Regions from separate parts of the Homo sapiens genome. Here region 1 is linked to region 2. The links are contacts of gene promoters, found by promoter capture Hi-C in human tissues and cell types (Jung and others, 2019). All regions are on one chromosome and are shown on one strand. The core of a region is centred on a gene start or on the middle of the fragment in contact, and the rest is flanking DNA. Distances in the headings are between cores, read along the strand shown.

Evidence for each region. Contacts are between HindIII fragments. The study calls those that stand out against the background at their distance.
Region 1: a fragment that was not itself captured here is called in contact with the fragment with the promoter of ARHGAP17 in region 2 in 1 of the 25 tissues and cell types used here (dorsolateral prefrontal cortex).

The regions. Positions count from the first base shown.
Region 1 is chr16:23,140,050-23,145,704 of GRCh38, forward strand. The region is part of intron 1 of USP31 (ubiquitin specific peptidase 31); the gene reads right to left. Among named protein-coding and RNA genes, the nearest start is that of USP31, 6.6 kb to the right of the region's middle. The HindIII fragment of the contact is 4,155 bases long and covers 340-4,494 here.
Region 2 is chr16:25,012,932-25,018,547 of GRCh38, forward strand. ARHGAP17 (Rho GTPase activating protein 17) reads right to left here and starts at 2,438. Exons shown (of 20, transcript NM_001006634.3): 1 at 2,278-2,438. The coding sequence starts at 2,330. It also overlaps the pseudogene LOC100421171. RefSeq lists enhancers at 1,326-1,994, 1,995-2,663 and silencers at 1,977-2,026, 2,087-2,136, 2,197-2,246, 2,327-2,576. The HindIII fragment of the contact is 28,450 bases long and covers 1-5,616 here.

The DNA of each region.
Region 1 (5,655 bases), core at 1,167-3,666, 1.9 Mb before region 2:
ATTTTCTCCTCCATTTGATTCATTTTCACTCACCATCAGACCCATTTTTCTAAAATCGTTTTCATCAAATCAATCTCTCTGCACAACTCAAGAAGGCTCAATTGAATCACTACTGATTGCAGCCTCAAGGCTAAACTGTTGTGACAGACTCTCAAAGCCATCCATAATGTGCCCCCTCTCCTCTCCCCAGTTATCTAAATTTATCTCCCCTTCATTCCAAATCAGTGGTTCTCAATTTTGCTGCCGAGGGACATTTGGCAGTATCTGGAGACATTTTTAATTGTCATGACTTGGAGTAGGGGGGAGTACAACCACATCTAGTGGGTGAAGGCCAGGGATTCTGCTAAACATCCTACAGTGCCAGGACAGCCCCCAACAACAAAGAATTAGCCAGCCCAAAATAGCAAGAGTGCCAAGGCCGAGAATCTGCTCCAAATCAAGGCTCTCTGTCCCCAGACCATGCTATATCTATACCTCTGCTCAGAATATTTCCCTAGCAACTTAGAATGTCGTCTCTCTTCCCCTTAACTATCAATGTTTTATTTATCTTCAAATCCCATTCTAAGTCTATAGCCCATGGCTTTAAATACCATCCAGTGGTGACGCCTCCAAAATGTTTATCTTATCTTCTGAGTTCCTTACCCAGCTGCCTACTAGACATCTCCTGAGTGTACTATTTAACATATCTGAACCTGAATTCCTGACTCCCCCAAAACTCCTTCTCCTCAAATAGGTATACAGCCCCAGCAATCACCCAGTTGCTCAGGAAAACAGGTGGGAGTTATTCTGGATGCTCTCCTCAACGTTCTCTGCTCCAGTGTCTTGCCACAAATCAATCCATTAGCAAGTTCTGTCAAGAGTCTACCTCCAGACACATCTTAAATCCATCCACTTCTCCACCTCCCTCCACCATCCCTTTTACCCAGTCCATCACAAAAGCCTCCTGACTGGTCTCTGCCTCCATTCTACTCACTATTCAGTGCCCAGAATAACCACTTCACATTTTCACAAGATCATACCAGGACTCTGTTTAAAGCCTATAACAGCCCCCATGACTCTTGGAATAAAATCTAAACCCCTTACCTTGGTCTGTAAGGCACTATAGCTACACAAGGCAGACTCGGCCTCTGCCTACCTGGCCCCTGCCTCTCCACCTCCTCCATCCCGCTCTCCTCCTGGCTCTCTAGCTGCAAACAAGATCTGTCAGACTTTCAAGTGTACCCTCAGCTCTTTCCAACTATAGCGCCTTCTGCATTTTATTCTTCCTGCCTGGTCACACCCATTATTCCCTCTCATACACCTATCTATTTCTCTTTAGCATTTATACAATAATTTTTTTTTTTTTTTGGACACAGGGTCTCACTCTGTAGCCCAGGCCAGAGGGCAGTGGCACAATCTCGGCTCACCACACCTTGACCTCTTGGCTCAGGTGATCTTCCCACCTCAGCCTCCGAAGTAGCTGGAACCACAGGTGTGTGCCACCACGCCCGGCTAATTTTTGTACTTTTTGGAGAGACAGGGTTTCGCCTGTTGCCCAGGCTGGTCTTGAACTCCTGAGCTCAAGCTATCTGTCTACCACGGCCTCCCAAAGTGCTGGGATTACAGGCACATGCCACCATGTCTGGCCTACTGTAATTTTTAATTTCATATTTACCAGTGTTTATTGAATAATATCTGCCTCCTCTGTGGCAATAAAAGTTCCGTAAAGGAAGGGACCACATGGCCTTTTACAATTTTTTTACCATTATCATATCACTTTGTTTTCCACTATATACAAATGACTTGTACAATATGTGGCATGGAGTTAGAAAATCAAATTTGTAGATGCTTAATTGCTGACAACAAATAAAAGGATGAATAAATGAAATCTTTCTACTTACACTTTCATACACAATGATCTCACCTCTCTCTCAGCTCCCAGTGAACTTTCCTCATCAGTACAACTTAAAACAGCTTCTCTATAAGCAGCTAAGTTCTCTGACGGCATGAACCTAGTCCTATAACCTTTGTACTTAATCCTGTATTCCCAGCCCCTTTACCTAAACTAACAATAACTGTGCAGCAAATGTGATTCAGGTCCAAAATATGGAGTTCATAATTATCCCATGTATTTTTATTCCTCAATTAGTCCTCATGGAAAATTTATTGTAATTCTTACACTTCACTTTTACCAAACTTGGTAAGATGTGGTAAACATCAGCTCAAAGCTTACTGGAGAGAGATCCACATGTGTTGATATACGTGTTGAAACAGTCTGAAAGGAATGTGTTTTAAGAAAGACTTCCAAAAACACCTAAGCCTGAGGAGCAATGGCACAAACGTGAAGCTAGCTGCAGATGACCTTATTTTCACTCCAATTCAGCACCACAGTCTCAGAGGAAAAAATGTTACACGTTTCAGCACGTCCCCTCTGCCCATGTACGTGTTATGTTGAGACCTGTCGTTTCATTGCTTGTACTGATAAGGCCACCCAGGCCCAGGACCCAGTTTGTGCACCAGCAGTGCAGGGGTACACAGAGTTCACAGTCAGTGGAAGTCAGAATTCTGGTTCTGCTCCCTCAACCTCTAGCTAGTGGGTGAACTCAGTTCCCACATCCTGAAAGGCTAGGAACTACTCACACCACATCCAAGTCTGCTTCCAAGTCTAAAACTTCATGATTCTATCAACTTTCTCCCTCAGAGGTGTGGAGCTTTGCTAAAACTCAAGTGATGGCATTTGATGGACCAGAGAACTGACCAGGAAGGGATGTACTTTTTATTTTATACTCTGTCACAAAGCTAAATGTGACCTACACAATTTCATTTTTTCCAAGGGACACCCTGAAGTCAGTGTGCTTTGTGGAAAACACTGAAGTATCAGTATACTAAAGAGCTTGACACTAACAAGAAAAAAACTGTGTACCATGGGTTTGCAGCATAGCACCAGAACCCCCAGCATGAGTGCATGGAAAAGCAGGCTGGGAAACTCAGCAAGTGTGAGCCTCTGATTGCCAGGTTGTTCACCACTAGTCTCTTATACAAGTTTATTCCTTTTGTGACTTGAGAATTCTCACTAATAAATAAGCACCACAAGGCACCAAAGTTCAAGGAAAAAAAAATGGGAGAGAGAATTCTATTCATCAATTACCATTTGTTTCACTGCAAATCTGGAAGGAGTCCCCACAATTCTTTTATCAATAGATCACTCTGTGCTAGCTGTTCTTTGCCAGCACAATTTAAAAACTGCTGCCATAAAATTTATCTTTCTTGCTTGAAAGATGACCATCCATCTTTTTACTTGCTGCAAAACGGCTCTGAGCTCTAAAACTCAGAAAGCATTTGTAAGAATCTGGGGCACCCATGCTCCTATGAAAGCAATAAGCTGATTCCCTTTAAAATGGCATATTATGTATTCAAAGTGATTTATTTACTCTCACTATTTTACTAGGAAAGTGATGCAAGGGTCCTGCCAGTGAAGCCCAAGTTTTACCCTAGTGCTGCTGCAAACACATATACACACTCAGAGACAGAGAAGGAGAAAGAGAGAGGGAGAGGTTGGGGGGGGGGAGAGAGAGAGAAAGAGAGAGCGCGAGAGATAACAAGGTAACCATTTTAAAGGCTGGGGAAGTAAAAGGAAACTTGCGCTGAGTCTCCAAACTTTCCTCCAAACAGTTTCTCAGCCTCAGCACTACTGACACTTTGGGGTGAAAACCCTTTAGTAAGGGGGGCTGTCCTGCACATTGTGTGACATTTAGCAGCATCCCTGGAATCTACCACCACATGCCAGTAGCACCCTGATCCCAGCTGTGACAACCAAGTAGGGTTCCAGACATCGACAAATGTCCCAGGGGGTGGGGGCAGGGTGGGGTGAGGACAGGCAAAAGTGCCCGTGTTGAAAACCAGTGCTCTAAGAGTAGGAAACAAACAAACAAAAAATCTGTGTGAAAAGAGAAAGGATAAAGGTAATGGCTAGAGACATTTTTTACAGCATATCAAGGTTGAGCTAGTCAACTCATTTCATCCTGGGAAATGAAAACCCAACTTTAACAACCATCTAGCCCATCCAAAACCAAAAACCATCTACTTGGCAAGCTCCTAAAACTCAAATCAATGTGGTTAAAAAGGAAGAAAGAACTCTAATTGAAAAACTTACAAAGAAAAGCATTAGTAACTTAAAGTTTTAAGATAATAAAAGCACAAAGACATAGTAAGTGCTTTTCTAACCTCAAGGTAACTATCTCAAGATGGCAAATTGGTTTTATCTCCTCTGCCAACTTCAACTAGGTGGTGGTGGCTGCCTGGAGCCCTTCTAGAACTGAGCAGGATTCTAAGGCTGAATGTGAGCGATGTGAAAGTGAAGAATATCTGAATGAAATAACGATGTCCACCCCAAGCAGGCGAAGCACAGTGAGGTATGCCTCAGGTCCACCTTCTGGTGTTTACCTTTCTTTTTTTTTTTTCCTTTTTTTGAGGCAGAGTCTCACTCTGTCACCCAGGCTGGAGCGCAGTGACATGATCTCTGCTCACTGCAACCTCCACCTCCTGGGTTCAAGAGATTCTCGTGCCTCAGCCTCCCGAGTAGCTGGGATTACAGGTGTGTGCCACCACGCTCGGCTACTTTTTGTATTTTTTTAGTAGAGATGGGGTTTCACCATGTTGTCCAGGCTGGTCTGGAACTATTGGTCTCAAGTGATCCACCCACCTTGGCCTCCCAAAGTGCCGGGATTACAGACATGAGCCACTGCGTCCTGCCTTAGCATTCAACTTTCTTTATATTCAAAATAATACCCATCAAATTTAGCTAAAATAAAACCTTTTTTTAAAAAGTAATCAATTTGCCAGAGTTACCTAACCGGGGGAATAAAAAGGGGAAAAGAATCTAATTATATCACTTCCTTGCTTAAAAATCACCTCTGGATTTTCAACTTGCAGAGGATGAAATCCAAACCAGCATAGCTCACGAAGCCCTTCACAGTGAGTTTCCAACACTCTTCTCCCAGGCTTCCTGCACCCCCACTGCTCTCTATGGTGCAGCCAGCCACTAAATGTCTATTCCCCAAAACCACACGCCCTTTCATGCAACTCCACCACTTCCTTGCCCTGCAAATTTCTATTCATCTTTCAGAACACTGCTCAGGAGCCACCTTTTTGGTAATGCTTTCCTTGTTCCTTGATGCCTGCTATACACAGGATGGTCCTTGAGCCAAAAGCACTGGCATCACCAGGGAGCTTGTTAGAAATGCAGAATCTTGGGCACCGCTCCAGCTCTACCGAATCTCAATTTCCTTTGTAGCAAGATCCCCAGGTGAATTATGTGCACACTGACGCATGAGAAGCGCTGTCTCAGGGAACTTCCTAGATCCTACTCGACTCAGCTCTTCATAGCTCCCTGGGAGGTAAACCCCTCCTTTACTCATCTCCTCTGTGAAGACAGGAAAACCCAAATGCCCACCCTCCAGCCTCCGTGACAGCCAATTGACATGGTTATAGCCAATGAAATATCAGCAGAAGCCTGCTGAGGGGGCTTCTGGAAGAATTTTTATTTCCCTAATGACTTCCTGCCGTCCTGGGTAGAATGCCAGGTGCAGTGGCTGCCATCACTGGACAACCATGAGGTGACAAACCTAAGAACAAAAAGCCAATGATAGCTAAAAAGACAACAGGTGGAAATACAGA
Region 2 (5,616 bases), core at 1,188-3,687:
TAGTAAGAACTCAAATACCAGAATTAACAATGTCTACTGCACCCTGGCCATGGGGTAGGAACCACAGCAGACCCTGGGAATCAAAGGAGACACAGCAAGGACTCTCAAGGTATTTATCTGATGGAGAACACACACAAGAGGCAGTCACAGCACAGAAAAGCAAGTGCTACACAGGATTACAAGAACGCCCAGGAGAGGCATCCAATCTATGCTGTAGCATCATAGAAGGCCTTTCAGAGGCAGAGGGACCTTTCCCAGAAGGCTGAAGAATGAGCAAGAGGTGCCTGGAGAAAAGGTGTGGTGGGAGAGGCTTCCAGGAGTTCCAAGTAGATGCTAGCAGGTAAGAAAGCAAGACCTCCTGTGGAAACTGAAGGTAGGCAAGCATGGCCGGAATTTTAAAATGTGAAGGTGCCAGGCAAGGTGGCTCACGCTTGTAGTCCCAGAACTTTGGGAGGCCAAGGCAGGCAGATCAGTTGAGGCCAGGAGTTCGAGACCACCCTAGGCAACATGGCAAATCCCCACTCTACAAAAAATACAAAAATTAGCGGATGTGGTGGTGCCCACCTGTAGTTCCAACCACATAGGTGGCTGAGGCGAGAGGGTCGCTTGAGCCCAGGGAAGTCAAGGCTGCAATGAGACAAGATCGCACCACTGCACCCCAGCTTGGGTGACAAAGGGAGACCCTGTCTCAAAAAAAAAAAAAAGTGTGAAGGGAGAAGCCTCTAAGATGACCCAGGAGTCAAAGAGACCCTAAATAGCTTGGTAGATTTAAGTCTCAGAACTTTGTATAAAAAGAGTGAAAGTCCCTTACCTGTCACGAACAATGTAAAAACAAGCCAAACGACTATTTGACAAATGTATCTTGGCACTTACTAAATACTAGTTCCACAATGCACGTTGCTCAGAACACTAACAAGGGTACGAAACTCACAAGAAATTATCATGTGCTTGTAAACTGTTCCTTGAAACATCAGCCGCCATTACCACACGTCTACCTTCCTCTCAGCATTATTTCTTTAATTTTCCTGCAAATAACAGAAAAGTAGGTTTGTCTGGGCTTTAGGGGCAGCGATTAACCCTGAAAATAAGAGTTAATTCTCACCACAATAATACGGTAGGGAATCGAAAAAATTAAACAAGGAAACTAAGCAAAAAGATGGAGGAAATGAAACAGTAAAAAGCAAATTTAGAAAACTCGAGAGGAAGTAAAAGTATTTTCATACACTCAAAAAAAAGAAGTGTCCCACGTGCTTCAGCCAAACCAAACTCCCCTTAACTGTTAAAAACAGAAAATCAAAAGAAGAGCTGTGAGAAATTCATACTTTCGTATCTCTTTGCTGAATAAACACTAAATCGGTACAGTACAGCCAGCTGCCCTGAAAGACCTTGAAATATTAGCCCCAGATAATACAGCACATGACAGTCACCTCCAGAAACTCTCAAAAACCACAAATCATTTCTTGTTCTGACAACCTGATCTACCAACTCTGGTCTAGCCTGCCATTTAATAATCAATAACGTTTCTTGTTAAGCACTTCAACCGTAGCAAAGGAAGATAAAGAAGCATTTGTTTCCAAACCTAAGGTGAGACTTTTTAAATTGGCGCAAGGCGTCTCCATAATCCTTTTCCGCCAATTCCTAATTTCTAAATGTCAAGAACTGGCAGCAGCAGTCCAGTTCCTAGGAGCCCTGGTTTTGAGACAGCACCACCTCCGAATTCCCTCAAAGGGCGTTCTGAACTCACTGAGCAAATCCGGCTGGCTTTCATGTCCCTCTAGCCATTTCTTGCCGCCATGCACTTACAGGAGAAGGACTCGCAAACAGCGGGAGCACCGGGAAAGCCTGGGACTGCCGCCCCCCACAGCACAGCGCTCGGCACAGCGTTAGGGACAGAAGTCACCGTTGTTGAGCCCAGGGCAGCGATCCCAGCTGGCTCGGCCCCCGGGAAGGGAGGAGAAGGACCGGGTCTACTCCCCGAGGGCGATGCTCCCGGGGCAGGGACAATGGGCAGGGGACCCCGCGGTGTGGCGGAGGAGGCGGCGGCCCTCCCCTGCAGGTCTCGGGAGCCCGGCGGCGCTGAGAGACAGGCGGGCCGCCTGGAGCGCGGCGCTCGGGCCTCAGCGCGGCGCAGCCCCCGGGCCCGTGCCCCGCTGGTCTCGGGCAGGGGCTGCGGCCCAGCTCAGAGCCGCCGGACCGCGGAGGAGCCGTCCCGCCCCCGCGCCCTCCGCCCTCCGCCCCCAGCCCCGGTGCGACCCCCGTGCTGCCCGGCGCACTCGCCTGCCCACGGTCTGGTTAGCCAGCTGCTTCATGCGGTTGAACTGCTTCTTCATGGCGGCGGTGGCGGCGGCGGCCCGCGGGGCTCGGGCCGGGCAGGGCGGGGGACAGCCTGGCAGCTACTACATCGCTTCCCGGCCCAAACGGCGGCGCGGCGGTGGCTCCCCGGGCCGGCGGCCCCGCCCTCGCCTCGTCACTTCCAGTGGCACCGCCCGCCCGCCCTCTAGGTCTGGCCGAGCCGAGCTGAGCCCGAGTAGAGCCGAGTCGAACCGAGCCGAGGCTAACAGTGCCTTACCTGACACGGGCGAAGAGCTAGAAGGCCCCGGGCGAGAAGACCACTAGGCCTCCTCCGCCTGGCCTCCCCGACCCCAACGCTGCCCGGTCACCCTCTCGTTTATTTCAACGTATGAAAAGCTGTTTCTAGCAGGGCGCAGTGGTTCAACGTTGTAATCTCAGCACTTTGGGAGGCCGAGGGGGCAGATCACTTGAGCTCGGGAGTTCGAGAGCAGCCTGGCCAACACGGTGAAATCCTGTCTCTACTAACAATACAAATTTAGCTGGGCGTGGTGGTGGACGCCTGTAATCCCAGCTACTCAGGAGGCTGAAGCAGGAGAACGGCTTTTACCCGAAAGGCAGAGGTTGCAGTGAGCCGAGATGGCGCCACTGCACTCCAGCCTGGGCAACAGAGTGAGAGACCCTGTCTCGAAAAAAAAAAAAAAAAAAAAAATTAAAGTCAATGTGTGTTTTCCTTAACACACGTGCTCACACACTCATGTCTTCCTGGTTTGGTGGCCTTGGCTCCAGGTAAGCCCCTTCTTTGCATTGGATGGGCAGCAATGTGGCTTCTTTCATCAGCCACATCTCAAATGTGCTCCTAAATGTCATAGAAAAAGGAAAGAGCTCCCTAACTATGGGATAAAGGAGACTGATGCCAGTTTGGAATTCTTAATATCAAAGAATGAGGGACTTCAAGATCTTTTTAGTGACCTAGGAGAGACCTAGGAAGCATCAGAGCTTCAGATAGGGCAGCAAACTAAAAGTTATCGACATCAATTACAACAGAAAGAGGTAGAAATGAGCCTTCCTAAAACAAGAAAGCAAGCACTACAGGATCGGTTGCAGGACCGGCAGCCAGCCCTGGAGTCAGCACATTCAGGGAAGGCCGGAGGTTCCCATCCACACTGCATCCCCTCCATTCCATGTGGTACCCATCATGCTTCAGTGTTCCACGACGCTTACATGGGTTTTTATGACATAATTTCATCATAACAAGAAATAAACAGATAGTCCAATGAAGTTCTAAAACTTGAGTCTCCAGTTGGCCATTGGAAATGTATTGCTCAGACTTATAAAATAGGAGGAACAACTAGTTTTGATGAAAATGAAATCTACAAACTACAAACACCAAATATTAATATCATCAAGGAGCTCAAACAAAAAAGAAGTCAGGATACTGATGACCATCAGCTTGAATTATCAGTATTACAGAATGTTCATCAACAGAAATTGAGGGAAATAAGTTGTAAGCATCAAGAAAATCTAAGCAATTAGGAAGAAAAGATTGAAGAACTGGAAAATTTGTTACAGCAAGGTGGCTCAGGAATTACAGTACATGATCTCTCTAAACTTCAAGAGAAGGAAAACACTATTCATGCAAGCTCTACAAATTGAAAAAGTAGAGTCTACCAAAAAATTGAAGAATTTGAACATAGAGTAAAAGACAAATAAAAAATTATCTTCTGGGGCCAGGTGCAGTGGCTCACACCTGTAATCCTAGCACTTTGGGAGGTCAAGATGGGAAGATCACTTGAGCTCAGGAGTATGAGACTAGCCTGGACAACATACTAAAACCTCATCTCTATGAAAAATTTAAAAAAAAAAAAAAGGCCAGAAGCAGTGGCATGCACCTGTACTCCCAACTAGTTGAAAGGCTGAGGCAACAGGATCATTTGAGCCCAGGAATTTGAGGCTGCAGTGAGCTATTATCACACCATTGCACTCTTGTCTGGGTGACAGAGTGAGACCCCTAGCTGAAAAGAGGCTATTGGAAGAAACAACTCTGAGAAAACCATGAAAAGATTGTCCACTGAAGCTAACCTGGAGAGCTCTGCCTTACAGCTAGAGCAAGAGTGTGTAATTAAACTCAGCCACGAGAAAGACTCTGAAATGTCAGCACTCAAAAAGAATATTGAGGCTGGGTGCAATGCATCACACCTGTAATCCCAGCACTTTGGGAGGTCGAGGTAGGTGGATCACCTGAGGTCAGGAGTTCAAGACCAGCCTGGCCAACATGGTGAAACCCAGTCTCTACTAAAAATACAAAAATTAGTCAGGCGTGGTGGCGGGCGCCTGTAATCCCAGCTGCTGGGGAAGCTGAGACGAGACAATCGCTTGAACCTTGGAGGCAGAGGTTGCAGTGAGCTGAGATCTGGCCTCTGCAGGGTGGTCCAGCCTAGGTGACAGGGTGGTCCAGTCAAGGTGACAGAGACAACGTGACAAGGTTACTGTCTCAAAAAAAAAAAAAGAATATTAAACAGATGGACACTGACCATAAAGAAACTAAAGAAAAAGTGCTCCTAAATTTACTCCAAGAGATTGAAGAGCTAAGAAAATCGCTGCAGGAAAAAGATGCAACCATTAGATCCCTCCAAGAAGACAATCAGAGACTGATTTGATTTTGTCATCTAGTTGAGAAGAGCAGAAGCAATTGACACAACTTATAAGAGAGAAAGCAATTTTTTTAAAAAAAAACTTAAAGGAAGTTCAGAGCTTCCAGAGGAATTATTATACTAAAACCTTAAGAAAGAAAGAAAGAAATTTCATAGCAAACCATAGAGGAAAAAGACAGATGTCTTGCATCCATGAAAGAAAAAAAAATCTGATAGAAGAATTGAAATGACTCAGAGGACAACAAAGTCTAACTGCCCCTGTGGCTGAGCCTAGAATGGTAGATACTATTATGGTACTAGAATTGGAGATATTTCAAATGAAAATAATCAAAGGTAATCTTGAGGAGGGAATAAAGTATCATCAAAATATATTTGAAGGTTGGGCATGGTGACTCATGCCTATAATCCCAGCACTTTGGGAGGCCAAAATCACTTGAGGCCAGGAGTTCAAGAAATCACTTGAACTTTGGGAGGCCAAAATCACTTGAGGCCAGGAGTTCAAGACCGGCCTGGCCAACATGGTGAAACCCTGTCTCTACTAAAAATAAAATTAGCCAGGTGCGGTGGAAGTGCCTGTAGTCCCAGCTACTCTGGAGGCTGAGGCAGGAGAATCGCTTGAACCCAGGAGGTAGAGGTTGCAGTGAGCCAAGATCGCACCACTGTACTCCAGCCT